Linked DNA regions of Homo sapiens: all the other regions are linked to region 1. Evidence: promoter capture Hi-C in 16 types of primary human blood cells and fetal thymus (Javierre and others, 2016). All regions are on one chromosome and are shown on one strand. The core of a region is centred on a gene start or on the middle of the fragment in contact, and the rest is flanking DNA. Distances in the headings are between cores, read along the strand shown. Region 1 holds the start of LRRK1 (leucine rich repeat kinase 1). Region 2 has its middle 200 kb from the start of LYSMD4. Region 3 overlaps TM2D3 (TM2 domain containing 3).

Region 1 (2,599 bases), core at 68-2,567:
GCTCCTTTAGAAGGGAAGTGGAGGTGCCCCATCTTCACCTGCCGCGTCCCCTCCAGCGTCTGCCCGGGCCCTGGGCCTGCGCTCCCTCGCGGTGGCGCCAGGTGGCGGGGCTGCGCGCCCTGGAGGAGCTGCACCGCCGTCGCGGGGCTCTCTCAGCACTGAGGACACCACGCCCTGCAAATTGTTGGGAACTTGTCGGTGGCAATCACACTGCTGGCTCCTGCAAACTGGTGTGAGGCCCTCAGGGGTGAGAACAGGATTGCAGAACTGCGCTCACCCTTTTGGAAAGTCGTCCAGTGGCAGAAGTAGCCTCCCAGGAGCAGAGCGAAGCTGCTCGGTGGTCCCCTCTCCAACCAGGGACCCAAGAAGCCGCTCAAGGGAACACGGCCCCGCGGCGTCCGGGAGGTCCTGCAGGAGCCCTGCGGCTGCCCCGGTTCTGTGAAATGGCAGTGAGGGTGGGGGAGATGTGCGCTAAATCCTGGGAACGTGCGAGTCATAACTTTCCAGGAGAGGGGCCCAGGGCGCTGGTCCTGCAGGGCGTGGAACCCTCTGCTCTTCCTGAGCAGGCTTTGTCCCCGGGTCGACACGGGGAGCTCAGCGTGAGGCCCGCCTGCAGCGTGGACGCAGATCTTTTTTATGGTCTGCGTTTCTGTATTAGCCTCAGCAGCCTGGTGACGCCTTTATAAAAGGTCGAAACACGATAAATTGCCAATATTCCACGTTTTATGTATTCCCCCCAAAGCCGACAATTAACAATGACTCACCGAGCAGCAGATTCTTTGCACACATCCATAATTGAATCAGTAAAATCCATGTGTTGGAGGATATGCAAATTGCAGGTCGTTAACGCTTTAGAACGACACATTTCTGTATCGCCCCGTGAAGAGCTCTACGCACATGAATGTTCCCCGTCTGTTTAACTGTTACGGCCGCAGTGTGTGGGCCGCAGGCGCGCTGGGGGCTCATCTGCTGATTTTGCTGCCCCTGGAGCAGAGGGATAGCGAAAGCGGGGCTGAGCGCAGCACGGACCGATCCCATCGCCGCGCTCGCCCCGCGTGGAGGCAGCCGGGTGCCCGAACCTGAAGGAGGACCCGGTGCCGGAAGGGCCCGCGGACCCCGGCGTCTCCCGGGGCATCGAGCGCCATCGCCCGCGTTTTACGGCCAGGGAAACTGAGGCGGCCGCCGAGGGGACGCCTCGCGACGGTTCCTGGGAGAGCTGGCGGCGGCCTTGCTCTGCGCGCTCTTCGCGCCGCCCTCCCCGCCCGCCCGCCTCAGGATTGAGGAAGTGCGTCTGGGCCCGGCCCCGGCGCGGGGGGCAGACGGCGGTGGGACGGCCAGGCCCCGGCCCCGCCAGTGTGTCCGCCCGGCCCCGCGTCCCGGAGCGCCCGCACCCGGCCCCGCCGCCGCCTCAGGTAAGCGCCGCTCCTGCCGGCGCCCCCCGGCGGCCTGGCTGCCTCCCGGCCCCGCCCGGGGAACCCAGAGCCCGCGCCCGGCGCCCGCGGGGAGCCTCGGCCTCTGCCTGCCCGCGGGCCCCTGCGCTCCGGGCGGCCGCGTGGTCGGGCACGGGGGGCCGTTGCGCAGGGGCCGCGGCCCGAGGGGCGCGGAGGGCGTGTGGGGCGACCCCGGTCTCACGTCCCCGCTGCCTCCCGCCGCGCCCGGAGCCCAGCCAGCCTGTGGGAGGGGAGCGCGCGGGGCCCGAGCAGGGAACCCCGAAACCCCGTCCGGGCAGGGTCGGGAAAGCTGGGAAGCGGAGGCAAGAGACACGAGTCGGGAGACACGAGCCGGGGAGCCCATAGGTTTCCTCTGCCTTTGGAGCGAACCCAGTCCCTTAGCGGGGAGCGGGCGGAGTGTGAGCGCGCGGGTGAGCCCGTGCCGGGGTGTCGGCAAGAGACCGCCCGGGAGCCTCTCGCTGGTCCGGGGCTTCCTGGGGTTGCGGGGCGGCCCAGCGAGGCTTCACCCTCCTCGATGTCTGGGTCACGCTTCTTGCCCAGGTGGTCTCTGGCTGGCGCAGATACAACTGCTCTGTCTACCATGGTCTCTGCAAGCTACAGGGGACCTTCCTGGCAGGCAGGGACGCGGGAAGGAAGCCTAGGAAGGCCGGGGTCAGCGAGGAGACGCTGGTGGAGAATCTGAGAACCCCCGTGGCCATCTCAACCTACCCCTTCACAGTATGAGGCCGCGAAGTTTTTCTCCCACGAACACTTCCCCTGCAACAGGTAGAGAAACGGGGGCATATAGCTTTCAGCAAACCTCTCACCGTGTACACTAATGATAGAGTTTGCCAGCCACTCACAGGGTATCAAAATGCCCAGACATTAAAGGGATAGCTAGAACATGCACAATTTTGGAAAATGTTAACATTAAACGCCTTTTATGATTTGATTCTCTTCATCTTTGCCTATGTCCTGAAAGAGAAAATAATATAACAAACTAACCTCACACCTAATTTGTTCCTAAAGGAGGTTTTGCGGTCAGCCAAACCTTTCCCTCTCCCAAAAGTCGATGTCTCTGGCAGTGACCTCGCAGTCAACTCGGATCCTCAGATAAAAAACATTCAGTCTGTTGAATCTATGTCTAAAATGTGTCCTGATCTGTCCCC
Region 2 (2,599 bases), core at 52-2,551, 990 kb before region 1:
TTTGGGGATGGAGGACGGGCCACGGAACAGGGCGGCCTCTGCCTAGCAGCTGGAAAAGGTAAGGGACTAGGTTCTCCCAACGAACCTCCGGAAAGAAACGCAGCCCTGCCAGCAGCTTCATTTCAGCTCAGTGAGACCTCTTTTTACTCTTTCGACCTCCAGGACTGTAAGATCATAAACGTGTGTTGTTGGAAGCCAGCAAGTTTGTGGTAATTTGTCACAGCAGTCGTGGGCCCACTAAGACACCTGTCGTGGGCCTCGTGTCCAGAGGCCTCAGCTGAAATGCACTGGGGGCCTGGTGGTGTGTGTTAGGTCCACTTGGCTTGCTGTGTTGTTCAAGTCCTCTCATTTCCTTTCTTATCTTCTGTCTGGTTGTTCTTTCCATTATTGAAAGTGGGGGACTGAGGTCTCCGACGATTATTGTAGAACTACTTTTCCCTCCAATTCGCTCCCTTTCTGCTTTGCATATTCTGTTAAGTGCTAAATGTTTATAACTACTTATTCTTGCTGTATTGAATCTCTTCTCAATATATAATGTTCTTTGTCTCTTGTAACCTTGGACAAGATACAGACTACTTAGACTATTGAAAATCCTGACAGTGTATTTGAAACATGCACGTGGACATGGTTTTATTTTTCTCAGTTACTGCTTTCAACTGTGTGCTGATTGAAACTCCTTTCCCCTGGATAGAAGACCTATTAAAATAACCCAACTTTATTCACTAACTTGTCAACTACTTTTGGTCAGTCAGAATTTTGTCTTTGGCCAGAGTTAATCAGCTAACCCGTTGTCCCCAGATCATCAGTGCAGCTTCACCTGGGTACTTCTTATAAATGCAAATTCTCAGGCCCTGCCCCAGAAACTCTGGAGGTGGCCCTGCAGTCTGTGTTTAAGAAGCCCTCCAGGGGATCCTCAGGTGTGATAAACTTTGAGAATCAGCGGTAACCCATCTGCAGAGGTATTTCTATTATTTCAGTAATTATATTTTTAAAATTTTACTTTCTGGAAATACTTTTTAAAATTTACCTATTTTTTCATGTATCTTGATTCTTTTTTTCTGTTTTTATTTCTCATTTTAGGTCTTTAGTAATTTTAAGCCAATTTATCTTGTAGGCTCTGTTTTGATCATTCTACTGGCTTTCCATCCCTGAAGTTTATTGACTTGGAGTTGCCAGTGTTTTGTAATTTGGGATTGTGAGCTGGTCTTAATGGGGACTTCATCTATTGGAATCTTCTGTACCTTACATGAGAGTGGGTGCCTCCAGAGTGCTTTTGGGTTTGCTTCAGCCAGGTGCTTGGCGTTATCACCAGCCCAGGACTGCTTTGCATACCAATGTTTTGACCTGGGGATTTTCTGGCCCATGCATGTCATATACAGCCTAATCCCATCACATGAGTATGGGCCTGTGATGACAAATTGATAGGAGAATCATTTTCCCTACTCAGAGCCCAGGCCAGGTCTAATATCCCTGACATAACTGCCAGTGGGGGAACTTTCTCTAGATGATGATTACTGAGAGTGCATCCTGCCCTTGAAGGACCCCTCATTTATGAGTGTTGTGGGGCAGGTCCAAGGCTTCCTCTCCAATTCCTCACAGCATTAAAACCCAAGTCCCTAGGCCAGGGATGGTGGCACACGCCTGTAATCCTGGCACTTTGGGAGGCCAAGTTGGGTGGATCACATGAGGCCAGGAGTTCAAGACCAGCCTGGTCAACATGGCAAAACCCCATTTCTACTAAAAATAAATATAAAAACTAGCCAGGCATAGTGATGCACATCTGTAATCCCAGCTACTCGGGAGGCTGAAGCATGAGAATCACTTGAACCCGGGAGGTGGAGGTTGCAGTGAGCTGAGATTGTGCCACTGCACTCCAACCTGGGTGGCAGAGTGAGACTCTGTCTCGAAAAGCAAAACAAAACAATCCAAGCCCCTGAGTTAGTGAGAGGATGCCAGCCCTGGTGGGTGGGGAGATCATGAAGTTGTATACCTAATTGTTGGTTCCCAGTTCATCTTTTGGCCTTTACTTTCTGTTGAACTCTGCATTTAGAGTCTGTTCTATTGCACCAAGCAATTCTGAGCATATTGCGGTGGGTGTTGCCTTTCAGGTTACCTAGTTTCTCATATTGCTGTAAATAGAAGTCCCCTGATAGCTCATTTTGAAACGTCAATCTCTCTTCCCTTCTCCACCTAGTGCAGGCTAAACCTAGTGTTTCCATAGATGGAGAGTGGGGTAGGGGCAGTTGCACATGACTCTCCTGCTTCTTGGCACTTGCTGTTCTAATGTTGGGGTCAGGAAGAGGGGCTGGCAAGGCATGACTGTGGTGAGCTCTCCTCTTGCTTTTCGGGTGGTAACTGCTGGTCCAGCTTATTGTCCACAGCTCTGCATAGGTAGGAGGTGACCAGAAACCCTAGGCATGATGAGGTTCAGCTGCCCCTGTGGACCCCCAGATGGTGGCCTCATGGTGCGTTCTGGTGCACAGGCCTTCTGCTCCATGACGTGACCCCGTAGCCCCGGTCTCCTCTGCCGTTCAGGGCCTTCAGCCTGGGCCCTAGACACGCATGCCACATCCATCTTCTCCCCTCTTGGAACCCGAGG
Region 3 (2,599 bases), core at 100-2,599, 730 kb after region 1:
ACTTGCTTCAGATATGCTAGTAGACTGAGATCTTCTCCAGTCCTACAAAGCAACATTTCTGTCAAGTGCATTTCCAGCAGACATCAACTGGCTTGACAGTTATCATTATAACTAAAACAGTAGTGAGCTGATATGGAAAGGTCTATTGGGTTTTTTAATTTATTTCTGCTTACATACTCAAAAGGGAAATCATAAAAGAATATAAAAATTCTTCAGAATTTCTTCCCAATAATCAAGTCTGAATTGTTCTTCTAACTTAAAGTTTACAATGAATTTATTTAGAATAAGTAAGCTGCAGTACTTACAACACAGGTAACAGATGGTTTCACTGCACAGTCAAAAGTGACAGGCTTCCCATAGGTACAGGAGAAATTTGTTGTGCAGTCTATACAGTCTGCAGGAAGCCTGCTACACAAACCATTGCTCGGACACTTCATCACATAAGGTGGGATTTCAGTACTTTCTGTGAGAGGCAAGAGAGAAGCTTATTCTCCTATAATACTGATTCGAATAACAGAGAACAATCTTCTAAGGTTAAGAGACGTGATCATTAGCAAGTAGACACTGCACTGGAAGGGAAGAAGCATGGGACTGGAGTCAGAGACACCTGCAATTAAAGCAGAATTCTGCCCACGGCCAGCTGTGGGACCTGGTGAGCACCACACTTGTAAAACATTACTTCATTCCTGCCTCCCACGTGGCCGTGAAAACTAAAGGTGCTCATATACAAATAATGTATAGAAAATTCTGGGTATACATTAAGGGCTTAAAAAAAAGACTATCATTTTGTAAGTTGAAAAAAAACTTACAGTAGGGTTTTGCAAAATCACAGAGGAAGTCTGTGGCAAAACTGGAACTAGAACCCAAATCTCTCCATTTCCAATCCCGTGTTCTTTTCATCTGAATTCACTAATTCAGAAATGAAGCCACTGACATCCTCAGGGCATCAACTTTAAAATGTCATTATTTCACACTGGTACTTCGATAAGCCACATTTGCTAATATAATATTTACAGTTTTACGCTACCAAAGTTCAAAACAGTTCTCTACTTTAATAACATCTTCAGTAAGCTGCAACTTATTTCCAACCAACCTAATGAGTGTGCAATGTATTTTTACCAACTGAAAGGATCAAAATTGCAAGTATTCCTGAAAAGAAGGGCTTTCAAAAGCCTGCAAGAGTTAAGAACTCTTGTGCTTTCTCTAAAAAGTAATCTGAGTTTAAAATTCAAGTGCACTGCTGTTTTTTACATCCAAATAAGAATCAGTAAAATATCTCTGCCAGTTTCAATTCACTGAAGTAATGTCACTTTAAAGTGATGAAATTATAGTCAGAGCCTCCACCTAGCAAAACACACTAATGCTTGTTTAAAACTGGTCCTACTTTACTCACTGTATTAAGGAACAATTCTACAAAATACTCTTTTTGATCCCGTGACTATGTGGCTGGAAGGTGGACACTTAGAATCACAAAGCAGAAATGACTTTAGGTCGTCAGACCAACCCCACCGCTTTAAAGATGAGGACCAAGGTCCAAAGAGGATAAATAATTTGTTCAAGATCCCAGTAGCAAAACCAGATCTAGATTTCAAGTCTCCATCAGTCCCGCTGTAATCCTTCCATTTCCACAGTCCTGAGGGAGCCTTTAATATTCCAACATCAGGAACAGGGTTTTAGCAGTAGAGGAAATTTGCTGAAGGGAAAGAAGCACGGACTGAAGGTTATTTTGATGGATGAAGTGGAAAAATAATAGAAATAAGGTGACAAATGAGCGTGGGATTGGAAAAAGAGAGGAGGCAGAAACGTCAAAAGGTATAAATACGAAGACTATCTACTGAAAATGGCTGTGTATCTACCCTTAATTCACATAATCTAAAATACAATAAATATTCAAAAATGGAAAGTGACTTCGTATACTAAAGGGAATTTTTATAAAAACAAAGAGAAACTACTAGAGATAACTACATGTATTTACTAGAATAGAAAACGTCTAGTACCTGCTGCCCTGGGAACTACTGTGAATGTGCGTGTTGGGCCCGGATCCTTTATTGACTGAGCCAGCGCCTGCGATTGCTCTAAATTTAAGGATCGTACAATTAGAGAAACACGTTATCCCGGGACAAGAAAACCTTATTTTGTGTGGTTAACACGGCGGGTCTACACCAGGCCAATAAGCTGCTCATGAAAACCTCACGGCTGGTCAGCCAGAAAACACAAAGCTTAGGGACGAAACGTCAACAGAGTAGACATCAGTTCAGGTCAGCCGGCAACGAGGGACCGAAGGATGACATCGCGCTCCAGTTCCGCCTCCCCGGCCCAGCCCCCAAGCGCTCCATCTCCGTGCCAGGGCTCCGCAGCCGCGATGGCGGGCTCGGTGTCGCCGGAGCGGAGGGGCGGCCTCGGGCCGGGCGGCCAGGGCGCCAGACTCCAGATGCAGCGACAAGCGGCCCGGAGCCCGGCACTCGGCCTCCTCCCCGCGTCAGCGTCCGCCCGTGGGCCCGGCCTCCTCGCAGCTCCCGGGGCCCTGCTGCCACTCAGCCCCACCCGGCGCTGAACCCAGCCTTTGACTCACCACCGCCCGACAGAATGCAGAACTGCG

What was found. Contacts are between HindIII fragments. The CHiCAGO score rates a contact against its expected background, and 5 or more counts as called.
Region 2: a fragment that was not itself captured here is called in contact with the fragment with the promoter of LRRK1 in region 1 in 2 of 17 cell types (naive B cells and total B cells); the score reaches 9.0 in naive B cells.
Region 3: a fragment that was not itself captured here is called in contact with the fragment with the promoter of LRRK1 in region 1 in 5 of 17 cell types (M0 macrophages, monocytes, total B cells and 2 more); the score reaches 6.5 in M0 macrophages.

The regions. Positions count from the first base shown.
Region 1 is chr15:100,918,040-100,920,638 of GRCh38, forward strand. LRRK1 (leucine rich repeat kinase 1) reads left to right here and starts at 1,318. Exons shown (of 34, transcript NM_024652.6): 1 at 1,318-1,412. ALDH1A3-AS1 (ALDH1A3 antisense RNA 1) reads right to left here and starts at 1,244. Exons shown (of 2, transcript NR_135827.1): 1 at 765-1,244. RefSeq lists silencers at 1-204, 965-1,554 and enhancers at 1-582, 335-424, 475-594, 1,769-2,360. The HindIII fragment of the contact is 4,524 bases long and covers 1-2,599 here.
Region 2 is chr15:99,929,459-99,932,057 of GRCh38, forward strand. No RefSeq gene overlaps it. Among named protein-coding and RNA genes, the nearest start is that of LYSMD4, 200 kb to the left of the region's middle. The HindIII fragment of the contact is 9,202 bases long and covers 1-2,599 here.
Region 3 is chr15:101,649,699-101,652,297 of GRCh38, forward strand. It overlaps TM2D3 (TM2 domain containing 3), which reads right to left. Exons shown (of 6, transcript NM_078474.3): 1 at 2,573-2,599; 2 at 1,998-2,075; 3 at 306-463. Among named protein-coding and RNA genes, the nearest start is that of TM2D3, 1.4 kb to the right of the region's middle. RefSeq lists a silencer at 2,271-2,599. The HindIII fragment of the contact is 1,735 bases long and covers 483-2,217 here.